2 separate regions of the Homo sapiens genome follow, and region 1 is linked to region 2. Evidence: promoter capture Hi-C in human tissues and cell types (Jung and others, 2019). All regions are on one chromosome and are shown on one strand. The core of a region is centred on a gene start or on the middle of the fragment in contact, and the rest is flanking DNA. Distances in the headings are between cores, read along the strand shown. Region 1 has its middle 59 kb from the start of SOD3. Region 2 holds the start of LGI2 (leucine rich repeat LGI family member 2).

Region 1 (7,818 bases), core at 4,690-7,189, 300 kb after region 2:
ATATATTAACAACACTGTTTTATAGCTGTACCTTTCACAATTAGGAGTTAATCTGAAGTTCATCTTTGTATATGGTTTGAGTCAAATTCCTGATTCACACCATATGCCAATACCATATGCAGAGTAATCCTTTCCTTCCCCATGGACTGATTTCTGGTGCCATCTTTATTATGACAAACTTCCCATTCATACCCAAGTCTTCCCCTGAGTTGCTGTTCTATTCTATCAATCATTGCCTGGTCCAGGCTAAAATTTTAAGATGTAGAGCAGGAGGGATGGAGAGTGGAACTGGGCACACCCATGATGTCTGCATTTGGAGGTTTATTTTATTTTAGTTTTTTATTAAATGTTAATTTTTTCTGTATTTGTTTTTAATATAAAAATTAAAGACAGACTTTTAAAAATATTAGTAAAAATGTATGATTTAGGATTCTTGGATTTTGGATAAGATTACTGAGTTCTCTCACAGTCTGTATCAGGAAATCACAAACTGTTTTTTGTAAAGGGCCGGACCATAAGTATCTTAGGGTTTACAAACCCAGGCTGCTTAATTCTGCCCTTGCAGCATGAAAGCAGTCACAGACAATGTGGGAGCAAATGAACTTAGCTGTTTCAGTAAAACTTTATTTACAAAAACCTGCTGGCTGGATTTGGCTTACAGGCTATAGTTTTCCAACCCCTGTCCTGTATCACTTGAAGTATTTTCTTCCCCATATAAGGTATCAATGTTCTTTACTGTGAAAGTCATCAAAGAAATTATTATCTTTGATTAAAGACCCATGTCTGTGGAGCTGGGCGTTAGATGTCCACATATGCTATCCCAGCACTATTCATAATAGATAACATAATAGAAAATTGTATCATAAAAGATAACCCAAATAGCCAGAAGTAAGAAAACTATTAAGACAATTCTGATAAATCCAAATAATAGACTATTATGTAGCCATTTAAAATGTTTATGGAATTTTTAAATAAGATGCACATGTTTATAATATGTCAACTTTTACATGAGAATAAAAATAATACATATAAAATATAAACTATGTTTTAAAATTCATAGAGAAAAGCCTAAAAGGAAAAACATTAGTGACAGATCTGGGTGAAATTATGAATGATTTTTATTATCTTCTGAATATGTGTCTGTATTTTCTACAATTTCTACAGCAGACCTGTATTAATTTTAAAACAAATGCTGTATTGTTTTAGTGTAAAGAAAGTTTAAAAGATGGCATCCACAAAACAATCTGCATAAATCCACTTAACATCAAGGAACACTGAGCAGATGGACAATGGAAATGCTCGTTTAGTAACAGCACAATAATTCAGAATATCAAGTCAAACCAAAGCCATTTGTAACTTTAATTGGGGTATTGAAAAAACAAGTAATTAATAGTAAACAATATTTTAGAAAATATTTATTAACACTGGGGACTCTTATCAGAGTCACACGTAGTATGCTAGAGTTTTTCAGGGATTGTCTCAATTAATCTTTCCAAAAGCCCTCTAAGATAGGTACTGCTAATATAATCATCATCATCATCATCCCCATTTTATAGAGGAGAAAACTGAGGCTTATACTCTTAAGAACTTGGTTCAAGCTCTGTGTACCTAGAAAGTAATGGAGATTGGGTGCAAATCCAGGGAGATATGATGCCCAACTGAAGAAATTGAACTCTTATAGAACTTTAAAAATAACTATTAGAGGCATGGCATTTCAGGCCAGGCACAGTGGCTCACACCTGTAATCCCAGCACTTTGGGAGGCTGAGGCAGGTGGATCACCTGAGGTCAGGAATTCGAGACCAGCCCAACCAACATGGAGAAACCCTGTCTCTATTAAAAATACAAAATTAGCCAGGCATGGTGGCACATGCCTTTGATCCCATCTACTTGGGAGGCTGAAGCAGGAGAACCACTTGAACCCAGGAGGCGGAGGTTGCAGTGAGCTGAGATTGCGCCACTTCACTCCAGCCTGGGCAACAAGAGCAAAACTCCATCTCAAAAAAAAAAAAGAAGAAGAAGAAGCATGGTATTTCCATCAGGTGAGGTAGTAGTTTCAAGTGGGATTATTAATTAGTCACAGCAACAGTTCCCAACAGGATCTCTGTTTGCCAAAATTTGATCTAGCTGTCTTTATGTTCTAATCTCTGGAAAAGCAGCATTTCTTTAAAAATGCTCTCCAGTCAGACCTTTCACTGGTTTAGACACTGGTTCAGCCAAGAAATCATCATGCCTTCCTTCCAGCTCACCCCTTTGCATCCCTTCTGCTTCAGAATTACAGAGCTTGTATTTTCCAGCAATGCACTGCAGTAGTTGCAGTGGGAGGGCTTTGACTTTGGATGGCTTCCTCAGGAAGGCACACACTGGGCCCTATGAGCCATACTCCTTGTATTAGTCCATACTCACACTACTATAAATAATAACCCGAGACTAGATAATTTATGAAGAAAAGAGATTTAATTGACTCACAGTCCCACAGGCTGTACAGGAAGCATGGCTGGGAGGCCTCAGGAAACTTACAATCATGGCAGAAGGGTGAATGGGAAGCAAGGACATCCTCACATGGCAGCAGGAGAGAGAGAGCAAAGGGGGAAGCGCTACACACTTTTAAACAATGAGATCTCATGAGAACTCACTTACTATTGTGAGAATAGAAAGGGGGAAATCCACCCCCATGATCCAATCACCTTCCACTAGGTCCCTCCCTCAACACTGGGGATTACAATTCACCATGTGATTTGGGTAGGGGCACAGAGTCAAACCGTATCATTCCAGTCATTCCACCCCAGCCTCTCCCAAATCTCATGTCCTTCTGACATTTCAAAATGTGGCCGTCTTTTCACAGCATCACTAGGCAATACCCTAGTGAGGACTCTGGGCAGGGGCTCCAACCCCACATTTCCCCTATGCCTGCCTGAGTAGAGATTCTCCATGAGGGCTCTATCTCTACAGCAGACTTCTGCCTGGACATCCAGGCATTTCCATATATCCTCCGAAATCTAGGTGGAGGCTCTCAAATCTCAACTCTTGCCTTCTGTGCACCTGCAGGTCCAACACCACATGGAAGCCACCAAGCCTTGGGGCTTGTGCCCTCTGAAACAACAGCCCAAGCTGTACCTTGGCCCCTTCCAGCCATGACTGGAGCTGGAGCAGGTGGGATGCAGAGCACCATGTCCTGAGAGTATACAGAGCCATGAGTCCCTGGCCCTGGCCCACTAAACCACTTTTTACTCCTAGGTCTCCAGGCCTGTGAAAGGAGGGGCTGCCACAAAGGTCTCTGAAATGCCCTGGAGGCATTTTCCCCATTTTCTTGGCTATTAACATTCAGCTCTTTTTTACTTATGCAAATTTCTACAGCCTTAAATTCCTCCCTAGAAAGTGGGTTTTTCTTTTCTACCACATGGTTGGGCTGCGAATTTTCCAAACTTTTACGTTCTGCTTCCTTTTTAAATACAAGTTCTGGTTTCAGGTCATTTCTTTGTTTATGCAAATGAGCATAGGCTTTTAGAAGCAGCCAGACCACATCTTGAATGCTTTGCTGCTTAGTAATTTTTTCTGCGAGATACCCTAAATCATCTCCCTCAACTTCAAAGTTCCACAGACCTCTAGAGCAGGGTCACAATGCCGCCAGTCTCTTTGCTAATGCATAGCAAGAGTGAACTTTACTCCACTTCTCGATAAGTTTCTTGTCTCCACCTGAGACCACCTCAGCCTGGACTTCCCTGTCCTTATCACCATCAGCATTTTGGTCACAACCATTCAACAAGTCTAGGAAGTTCAAAACATTCCCTCATCTTCCTATCTTCTTTTGAGCCTTCCAAACTATTCCAACCTCTGCCCATTACCCAGTTCCAACATCACTTCCACATTTTCACATATCTTTATAGCAATACCCCACTTCTGTGGTACCAATTTTCTGTATTAGTCCATTCTTGCACTGCTATAAAGAAGTACCTGAAACTGGGTAACGTATAGATAAAAGAGGTTTAATTGACTCACAGTTCCACAGGCCATACAGAAGGCATGGCTACGGAGGCCTCAGGAAACTTACAATCATGGAAGATGGTGAAGGGGAAGCCAGCATGTCCTACATGGCTGGAGCAGGAGGAAGAGAAAGTGAAGAGGGAAGTGCCACACACTTTTTTTTTTTTTGAGATGCAGTCTCACTCTGTCACCCAGGTTGGAGTGCAGTGGTGCTATCTCTGCGCACTGCAACCTCTGCCTCCTAGGTTCACACCATTCTTCTGCCTCAGCAGCCTCCTGAGCAGCTGGGACTACAGGCGTCTGCCACCATGTCTGGCTAATTTTTTTGTATTTTTAGTGGAGACGGGGTTTCACCATGTTAGCCAGGGTGGTCTCGATCTCCTGACCTCGTGATCTGCCCATTTGGGCCTCCCAAAGTGCTGGGATTACAGGCGCCACACACTTTTAAACAACCAGATCTCATGAGAACTCACTATCTCAAGAACAGCAAGAGGGTAATCTGCCCCATGATCCAATCACCTCCCACAAGGTCCCTCCCCCAACACTGGGGATTACAATTCAACATTAGATTTGGGTTTGACACAGAGCCAAACCATATCACTCTTCACGTGTACTTGTCACGCTGACTTCTCTCGCCTTGCTCCAACAGGCCCTGCTGCCTCCTACTGGAGGCATTTGCATTTGCTGTTCCTTCAGCCTACAATAGCTGTTTCCAAAATCTTCTAATGGCTGACTCTTCATCATTCAGGTCTCAGCTCTAACGTTACCATCCAGAGAGCCCTCCATGCTATCCGTATCTAAAATTGCCCCCCATCCTCCACCCAGCATGAGCAATTCCATTCTTGTTATTTGATGCATTTTTTTCTTCATAGCACTGCACCTGTTTGTAACCCTCTCGTTAATTTTTAAATGTGTGTTGTTTATGCCCTCCATTAGAATATTAGTTCTTTGTGGACAAAAACCCAGCATGCAGTTTTTGCTACAGTCCCTGTTCCTGGCACCTAGGAAGGCCTCAGTAAAGATTTACTGAGTAAGGCCAGGCTTGGTGGCTCATGCCTGTAATCCTAGAACTTTGGGAGGCTGAGGTGGGCAGATCACTTGAGGTAAGGAGTTCGAAACCAGCCTAGCCAACATAGTGAAACCCCATCTCTACTAAAAATACAAAAATTAGCTGGGTATGGTGGTGTGTGCCTGTAATCCCAGCTACTCAGGAGGCTGAGGCAGGAGAATCTCTTGAACCCAGGAGGCGGAGGTTGCAATGAACTGAGATCACACCACTGTACTCCAGCCTGGGCAACAAGAGCAAAACTCCATCTCAAACAAACAAACAAAAAAAGATTAACTGAGTAAATGATCCCATTTAATTTTCCCAAAAAACTCATAAAGCAAATGCTGCTCTACAGTTGAGGGAACTCAAGCTGAGAGAAGTTAAACAATTTCCCAGGTCACACAGCTAAAACCTGGGAAGGACAGGGGTTTGAAGCCAGGGTTTGTCTACCTCCCATTATTTTAACCACCTTCTATTTAGCCCATTGATGACAAGGAGATTCTCTCCCTAGGGCTATAGGAATAGCTGAACATGAGACGCCTAACACTGGACAGCTGAGATCAGCAGCAGTTTACTAGTGACATATACTCACACCCAAAGAGAAGAATTGCTGCACCATGCAGGGCCACACGGGGGGGTGCAATTGAGAGCAGAGTGAACCATAAGAGGTTGTGGAAGGCAGGTTGTGTAGTATCAAGAGGGTGGGGTCCTCCTTGGTTCCCACGAGAGGATAGATTGGCTTGTTTAGATAATTCTGCAGACTAGCAGAGAACTGAAACTGGCTACTCAGGGATAAGCAAGAGCTACACCTGGCTCATTTAACAAGAAGGGTCCTTTGGCCACGGGACTCTGTGGGACTCTAGAGTGGGAATGGGAACTTGTGATTAGGCATTTGAGACCCTCCCAATATTACCGGATGTCAAGGTACAGATAATATTAGACCTTAATTTTAAGTTTTACACCACCCCATATTAGAAACCACATGAATACTAAAAGAGAAAACAGGAGGACTTGTAGTAAGGAGATGAAGTAGAAGTGGCCTTTCAATAAGGCAGCCTAAAAATAGACTCAGCCAGCATCCCTCAAGAAAATGCATGGTTCTTTCCAAATGCCTTGCAATCTTCCAGAAATTCTTTCTTATTTCAACAATACTGCAAAATTGGCAAGGCTGGTCTCTCTGGGAAGAACCTCAAGGGCAATATTTTAGGGCATTTGAGCTCACGAGGATGATAGAAGATGGCTGACTTGCATCCTGCAACTGGTTCAACACCTACCCATAATACCAATGGGTTTTGCTAGTATGGTTTTAAACACCCATAAAAATCAAGCTTTATTGATGGGGAAAACATAATATCTTCCTGGAAGTGGGCCCTGCTTTGTGCAAAGAGAGTACACACAATGTTCCAAATATAGATAACTGACCCAGGAGTCCTCTGGGGCTACTGTGGCCTCAGACATAAACACAATGGAAGAACTCGTTAAAAGCAGCGTGATTGGCATCTAAGTCATGTCACTCTTGCCTGCATTTTAGATACTTAGTTGTGTCAAATATCGAATTACTTTCATCTGTGTGGGATGAAGAGCTGTTTGAAGCTCTTGCTCATTTTGCTTTGGGCATGCGTGTGTTGTTGTTATTGTGATGTTCTCTTCATCTCTTTGAGATTGAATTCTTTCTGCACTTTTACACATCCATGCAAAAGAGAGGAAGTGAGCATTGAGGCCGACAGTCCTCTGACTGGCTGGGGAGATGTGCAACCTTTTTAAATGCATTGCTTGGAGATGTATCTCCTATGTGCCTTTCCTCCCCACCTAAGTGTGCACATGTGCACACACCACACATACACACACACGCACACAGCTGTGCACTAATGCCACAGACAGTCTGGGTCGAACCTACCTTTGCCACTTGCCACCTCCCTCTTTCACCCCTGCCGTAGAGAATATTTGCAGACATTTCAGTGTCTTCACCTCCTGACAGTCTTCTGTTTGGAATGCTTTTCCCCGCCACTCTCCTCTCTCCTTCACCTGCCATCTCACCCTCTTTCACTGGTTGACTCACACTCACCCTTCAGAGCTCACTTCCACACAGAGGTACACATTTTAGTTAGAACCCTGCATTTCCCCTTTGTCATCCTCTGTGTTTGGAGGCTGCCCTGGGCCTGCACACAGCAGCCCCTTCAGCTACAATATGGAACGTTGTCAGACGACAGGGGCAAGACCACTGCACCAGCCAGGAGGGTTGCACCTGTTCATTTCTTTCTTTTTTTTTTTTTTTTTTTGAAGCAGAGTCCAGCTCTGTTGCCCAGGCTGGAGTGCAGTGGCACAATCTCGGCTCACTGCAACCTCTACCTCCTGGCTTCAAGCAATTCTCTGCCTCAGCCTCCAGAGTAGCTGGGATTACAGGTGCCCACGACCACGCCCGGCTAATTTTTTGTATTTTTAGTAGAGACGGGATTTCACCATCTTGGCCAGGCTCGTCTTGAACTCCTGACCTCGTGATCCACCCACCTCGGCCTCCCAAAGTGCTGGGACCACAGGCATGAGTCACTGCGCCCGGCTGCACCTGTCCATTTCTTTCCCTGAATTGTTCTCAAATTGGTCTTCTTCCTTTCAACGCTGTTTCCTGCCCATTTCAGATCACCATTGATATCCCATAAAATACGTTAGCCGCCTTTTAACTGGCCCTGCCTCAAGGGATCTGATGAGGCAAGCGGCACAATCTTTTGCCTTGGGCTTCATTCCTGGATTCTGTACTATAGAGGGCCCAGCTCTGGCTCTCAGAGCTCT
Region 2 (6,988 bases), core at 3,206-5,705:
CCTGTAATCCCAGCACTTTGGGAGGCCAAGGCGGGCAGATCACGAGGTCAGGAGATCGAGACCATCCTGGCTAACACGGTGAAACCCCGTGTCTACTAAAAATACAAAAAAAATTAGCCAGGCATGGTGGCGGGTGCCTGTAGTCCCAGCTACTTGGGAGGCTGAGGCAGGAGAATGGCGTGAACCTGGGAGGTGGAGCTTACAGTGAGCCGAGATAGCGCCACTGCAGTCCAGCCTGGGTGAAAGAGCGAGACTCCGTCTCAAAAAAAAAAAAAAGATACATCTTGAGTCCACCTCCACTCTTCTCTGCCACCAGTCAAGTCCCAGTTGCCATCATCTCTCACCAGGACTAGTTCAGTGGAACTAGTTCTCATTCTCTACTCAGCAGTCAGAAATAACTGCTGTGAAGTAGAAAGGATAGCAGGCTGCTTCTCTGACTGACGTCTTTCAATGGCCTCTGGCATTTAGAACAACATGCAGGCTCTTTGCCTTTGCCTTGGTCTACAAGGTCCTGCATGATTTAGTTTCTTTCTACCTTTCAGACCTCATTTCATCTCTTCCTCTCCCTTATTCTCCATGCTGTGGCCACACTGGCCTGCATTCAGAGCCTTACATGCACTCAGCATGTTCTGGTCCAGGTGACTTCACACATCCCATGCTTTCTGCCTGCTTCGCCCCTCCCTTAGCCTCTGCTTACTGCCCGCAGCCCTCCTGCACTTGCCTGCCCTTCCTCATCTCAAAGCACTCAGCTAAGGTCTCAGACAGGCTTTCATCATCTTGATATGGTTTGGCTGTGTCCCCACCCAAATCTCATCTTTAATTGTAGCTCCCATAATTCCCACATGTTGTGGGAGGGACCTGGTGGGAGATTATTGAATCAGCAGCGTGGTGGTTTCCCCCATAGTGTTCTCGTGTTAGTGAATAAGTCTCACAAGATCTGATGATTTTGTAAGGAGAAACCCCTTTTGCTTGGCTCTCATTTTCTCTTGTCTGCCACCATGTAAGACATGCCTTTCACCTTCCACCATGATTTTGAAGCCTCCCCATGAGGCCATGTGGAACTATGAGTCCATCAAACCTCTTTTTCTTTATAAATTAACCAGTCTCCAGTATGTCTTTATCAGCAGCATGAAAATGGACTAATACACACCTAAATTAGGTCTCCCCTATTCTCTTCCTTCATAGGCTCTATCAAAATTTGCAATTGCATACTCATGTATGCATTCTTTTAATTTAATATCTGTCTGCAATGAAAGTGGGGATCATGTCTGTCTTGGTCATTGTTTTATTATTGATGCCCAGCACATAGTAGGTTCTCAGTTAATACTGACAGAATTAACTGACAAGTAGCTGAACATGAGGGTACATGAACACATGAATGAATGCCATTTTGAGCTGCCAACACATGGAGTCATATAAAGTAGAACCGGTTTGAGACTTTAGAGAAGGCCACTCAAGCCTACGCCATTTCAGCCACTGTAGGAACGTGTGTTATTCATGTCATAAAGACATAGCTTGAGTAAGTTTACGTCTCAACAAGGATTTTTACAAAGATTTTTCAAAAACTCTTGCTATTTCCTGAAACAGATTGTGTCTCTCTGATTGTCTATTAAGTTTTTTTTTAAACTGCTGAGGAACTTGGAACCACACCAAAGTAATCTGCATTTCCATTTTTATATTTTAATTTATAAACTGCGCCTTATAATTTACAAGCACTCACTTACTTAGTGTCTCTAGCAGAGCCGAAACAAATACTAACTCTGCCAGCTATGCTACTCTGGCCTACTTTCTGCACCATTCCTATCAGGAACTTTTTAGTTTTTTGGGGTGGAGAGGGTGGGCTGGAGCTAGCTCTAGCTGTTGGAAGTTAAGGTTAGGAACAATGATGATATGTCACATTTATTTAGGAAAGGGTGCAGAAGGGCTCTTTATCCCCATTTTATAGATGAAAAAATAGAAGCTAGAGATGGGAATAACATGACCAAGAAGGTTTGCTTGTGATTGATGAACCTGACTTACAATCTGCATCTCTGGAATTCCTCATGCCAAGGGTCTTTCCAGAACACTAAGCCAGGCTCTCTCAACCTTGGCTCTAGCAACATTTTGACCTGGATCATTCTTGCTGAGTACTGCAAGATGTTTAGTAGCGTCCCCAGCCTCTACACATTAGACGCCAGGGGCACCCACCCCAAATATCTCCACACATGGCCAAGTGTCCCCTGAATTACCCGCAATTGAGAACCACAACACAAGACAGTGACTCTGATTACAATGGAAGGACAGAAGTCAGGAAAACCCATCTCCCTCCATAGTCCTCTCTCCGTCACTTACCTACAATCTAGTCACATAGAACTCTGCTCAAACGCCCAGTGCCTCCTTTGTGGTATTAAATGCTTTACTTTCTTGATCTCATTTAACCCCCAAATGTGGTTACAACAACCTCTTGTTTACAGGTGAAGAAATGGAGGTTTAGAAAGATCACAGCTTGCACAGCAGTAAGTGGCAGGCTGGGATTACACAATTACACATCAGTAAGTGGTAGGCTGGGATGCAAACCCCAACCTGTCTAGTCCTGAGGCCAGCATTTAGCTATGCCACCCTGCCCCCAGGCTCTCACTCAGAGGTGAGAAATAGATTTTCTTTTCCTGGGTCAGCAGGGAGTGCTCTGTTTGAGAAGCCTCCGTTCCTCTGCTCTATAAAGCAGTAGCCCATCCCTCTTAAGGGAAACATCTTTCAGGTGCACAGCACACACATCCACGATTGTGGGTCTGCATGTCTGTCGCCCTCCCAGGCTGTGGTCTGTGTCCTCAGCCCCTAACACTGGGGCTTGCTGAGTAAAGTATTTGTAAATGCATGCCCACACAGCAGCGAGGGTTAGACACAGCAGCCAGTTGTGGAGTATGATCTCCCTGGCCATGTCCTGTGTGATCTTGGACAAGATAAAAACTTCTCTGAGCTCAATGTTCCCATCCATAAAATGGGAGGACCCATTTCTCAGGACAGATGCAAGAATTAAATGATGATAAATGCAGGCTGGTTTGTACTGATGCCAGGTGCTTTTTACATAGTCACCAGCAGGGAATGTCTAACTCCCTCCATGAAGTTGCCTACGCAAAGCTCTCTTTCAATTCCTGAACCTCTTTTGGTCAGTCTGTGACCCCCTTGTAGCCAGTGGAGTTGCTCTTTTAGGGTTGTCTGTCCAGCTAGACTTTTAGCTCCCTGAGGACAGGAGCTGTTCCTTTGTTCCCTCCCACAGCAGCCAGCCTGATACCGTCCTCATGGATCTTGTCAATGGATCACCAACAATAATTGCTGAAGAAGCAATAGTATGATTCCTACTTTTGCATTCGATACTGACTTTTCTGAGTAGGTTTTAGCATCTGGCATGCTTTTCCTTGGTTTGCAGCTCGACAGTCGTGCTGTGATTCCCTTCTCCCAGCAGTTCAGGTTATTAGCCATTACTTTGTTTCCGCTTTGGTCATTTTCTTTGATTTCCTCAGCCGCACATTACCTGTGTTAAGATTTCCGCTCATTGCTTCAAACTTAAGGAGTTGAAGAGGGGCTCAGGAGGGCCCAGTTAAGGTAGCCCTTCAAGGCTCCGAGCCCCATCCTGCCCAGCCAGGAGCTGCTGGACCATCAGCCAGTCAGGATGCTTTCTGGGCGTCAGCAGCCTCATCAATAAATTAAGGATATAAGTAGGACCTGCCTCAAAAGGTTAGAAGATTAAAAGTACAGTGGCTAGAATGTATCACACCCTCAATCTCTACAAACCCTCCTCTGACTGGGGCGGGTGGGGTGACCCGTGGGCAGCTGAGCGAGGGGAAACTTTCCCGGGCTTTCCAGCTCTTTAGCAGGCAGCAGGCAGGGCCCAGAGCGCCGGGCGTGCAGGCTGCAGCGGCTTTGCTTCCCCACGTTCCTCCCATGGGAGGACTGGCTGGCTTCAGTAACCCCTGGTGCTGTGGGAGCGAGAGCCAGACCTCACTGCCCCACCGCAGAAGACAAGCAAAGCCATCCTCGCTGACCCTACCGGCAGCATGCACTTCAAAATTAATAAAGGCTGCTCCAAAGTCTCTCCTCTTCAAAGCACCCAGGGCTGCCTCCCTCCCCAGTAATCAAGCCGGTTCTCCACACTCCCCGCTCCGACTTTATTGATTTGCCTGAAAGGAACCCAGTGCCCTCCCCAGATTATACCCCTGGAGGTATTGCAGGCATCGGATCCTCCACCGCTCAGTCAGGCCCCGACGGGGGTCTCCGCCAGGCTTGGCCCCTCCCCCAAGGTCACCCAACTTTTCCCTCTGTCCCCGCGCCCGGCCCGGGGCGAGAGGGGGTGGCGAGGTGGGGGCCGGGTGGGGCGCCACGGGGCCGGCGCTGGCCCCCTCCCCCGCGGGGCGGGCCCCGCCATGCATTATTCATTGGCCAGAGCCGGGCTGCGGGCGCGAGTGCTGATGTCAGGCAGGCGCGAGTGCGGCGGGCGCAGCGGCGGCGGCCGCCCAGCAGCCCGGGCTCGGGTGGGGGGGCGCCGAGTGGGGGTGGCGGCCAGCATGCTGCTCGGCTGCGGCTCGGCCTCCCACACCCGCGGCTCCCTAGTCCTCGCCAGCAGCGGCGGCGGCAGAGCAGCGAGCGGCGCCCGCGTCTGCAGCGGCGCCGGGTCCGAGCGCGCGGCGCGGCGGTGGGGGTCGGGGCCCGGGCGGGGAGCGGGGACCGGGCATGGCGCTGCGGAGAGGCGGCTGCGGAGCGCTCGGGCTGCTGCTGCTGCTGCTGGGCGCCGCGTGCCTGATACCGCGGAGCGCGCAGGTGAGGCGGCTGGCGCGCTGCCCCGCCACTTGCAGCTGTACCAAGGAGTCTATCATCTGCGTGGGCTCTTCCTGGGTGCCCAGGATCGTGCCGGGCGACATCAGCTCCCTGTGAGTGGGACCCCTCCAGCCCCCATCCCGTCCCGCCCCACCCTGCGTCCGCCGCCGCGAGGGAGTTGCCTCTGGCGCCGGGCCAGCGCGACCCTGACCCACTCCCCAGGCCCCTTCTTTGCCTTTGTGTGGGGGACGTGGGTGGAGTGTTGGCCCCCGGGGAGGACGGTGAGGACCTGAGCCCCAGAATCTGGGAACCCAGACAGGTTCCTGTGGCAGCGTTTCTCAGAGTGTGGCCCACGGGCCACCTGCATCAGACTCACCTGGGGAAGCTTGTGCCAATGCAGAATCCAGCTGCTCTGAAGCAGTCTTTGGAGTGGAGTCCTGGAGTGTGCGTTTGACGTCCCCGGGAGACTCAAGGGTGCATTAAAGTTTGAGAGGGCGTGTGCGTGTGTGTGTGTGTGTTTGCGGGTTGGAGTTGTGTGTGTAGGGGCGTGCATAGGAGCAGCTGAACACGACCTGACTGAGTGCAAACTGGGCAGGGTGAGGCCTCACTGCCCCACATCAGGTCTGGGGCGAATGTTCACCCCGTGGCCTCCTCCCGACTTCTCCACATTGCAGGTTGCAAAAAGTCGAGGTCAAGGCATGCAGGCTCTGGGAGGGGAGGGGCCGCCCCCCGTGGCCTAGAAGAGGGGTAACAGAAGGCTGGGCAGAGGTTTGGGGCATGTTGGGCGCCTAGCCCAGTGGCCAAGTGCTTTGAAGTCAGCCTTCTTGCCCTGAGGTCAGGAGGGCTTCTTGCCCCCTTTCTCCATCACACAGTTGTGTTGGCTGCTTTTTCAGCAGGAGGAACTGACAGGAAAGGGCTTCACATTAGGTATCCACCTGCCGAGAGGTGCTTTCATCCTGCCCTCACCTGGCCACTCAAGCCAAATGACCAGCTCTCACAAGGGCGGTGGAAGGGGCTGTTGGGCTGTATCTTTACTGCTAGGACATGTTTCCTGCTAAGACCACTCTCTTGTTCCAGGCCAAGATGCCTGGGTGCCCAGTCAGTGGTGGAGGCAGGGAATCCCCGGGGTGACGTTGCTTGTGCTCAAGATACTTTCTTGTGTCCAGTGCTTCCCAGCCTCCCACCCAAGGCAAATTGTAGGGGCCTGGACCCAGGAGTGAGGGGGTTCCCATTTGCATTTATAGAAAGTCAGAAGAGTTTGGCTGGTGGGAACAGAGGACCTTTTTGATTCTTAATATTGCTAAGTCGGGTGACATGGAGGATTCCAGAAATTAGAGTTCCCCTTATTAAATCCTTCAGACCAGCAGCTGCTTAAGTGATCTGCATGCCAACTGAAAGGAATTCTGAAATAATGTATTCAGATCCTGCTGTGGCCAGAAAGGATGGGGGCCTGGGGGCAGAAATAAAGCCAAGCATCTTGCCTCCTGGTTGACCGTTTTATCTGGCAGATGGTACTGCCTCTCCCCACACAGGGGAGTTCAGGTGTCTGTGAGTTTTTCCCCAGGGCTTTCATGTTGCATTTAATCAGGAGTGCTCTGTCTTTCAGAGATGGGGTCCCAAGAGGAATGCTTAATCCTACCCCAGCATTTCATAGGCCAACACAACGCTGTGTCTACACAAACAGAATCATGGGCAGAGGTGAAGCGATTATCCATTTTCAGGCAAGGACCTCCTGTAGTTAAGAAAAGGAAGTGAAGGGATTGATTTAAACTGACCGAGATAATGTCTGTGGAAGGAGCTGATGGTAAAGGTTTCTGTTATTCAGACTAGTCTTCATATTGATCTGATTCATTGGGAAGTGGCTTGTCTCTTCTTATTCCTACCCCGGGGAAGATCCTGGGCAACTGTGCTATGCCTCACTCCTGAGAGTCAGGGTTTGAAGTACAGGTGGAGGCAGAGTTTGATTACCCACCCTGCATGGCACTTCCTAAAAGAAACCTAGGCCTACTTTTGTTCATCTTTTGCCCGTAGGAGCCTGGTAAATGGGACGTTTTCAGAAATCAAGGACCGAATGTTTTCCCATCTGCCTTCTCTGCAGCTGCTGTGAGTATGGGAAGTTCCCTCTGCACAATGGGGGGCCCTGAGGTGCCATCCTTGGAGGGCCGTCTCTGCCTCTTTGGTATCAGCCCTTCCTAAA

Evidence for each region. The method cuts DNA at HindIII sites, captures the fragments that hold promoters and counts their contacts. A contact is called where the count stands out against the background at its distance.
Region 1: a fragment that was not itself captured here is called in contact with the fragment with the promoter of LGI2 in region 2 in 2 of the 25 tissues and cell types used here (IMR-90 fibroblasts and thymus).

The regions. Positions count from the first base shown.
Region 1 is chr4:24,733,083-24,740,900 of GRCh38, reverse strand. No RefSeq gene overlaps it. Among named protein-coding and RNA genes, the nearest start is that of SOD3, 59 kb to the left of the region's middle. The HindIII fragment of the contact is 7,905 bases long and covers 1,987-7,818 here.
Region 2 is chr4:25,028,413-25,035,400 of GRCh38, reverse strand. LGI2 (leucine rich repeat LGI family member 2) reads left to right here and starts at 4,455. Exons shown (of 8, transcript NM_018176.4): 1 at 4,455-4,904; 2 at 6,823-6,894. The coding sequence starts at 4,708. It overlaps LOC124900684 (a long non-coding RNA gene), which reads right to left and starts at 5,293. Exons shown (of 2, transcript XR_007058083.1): 1 at 5,168-5,293. The HindIII fragment of the contact is 9,452 bases long and covers 1-6,988 here.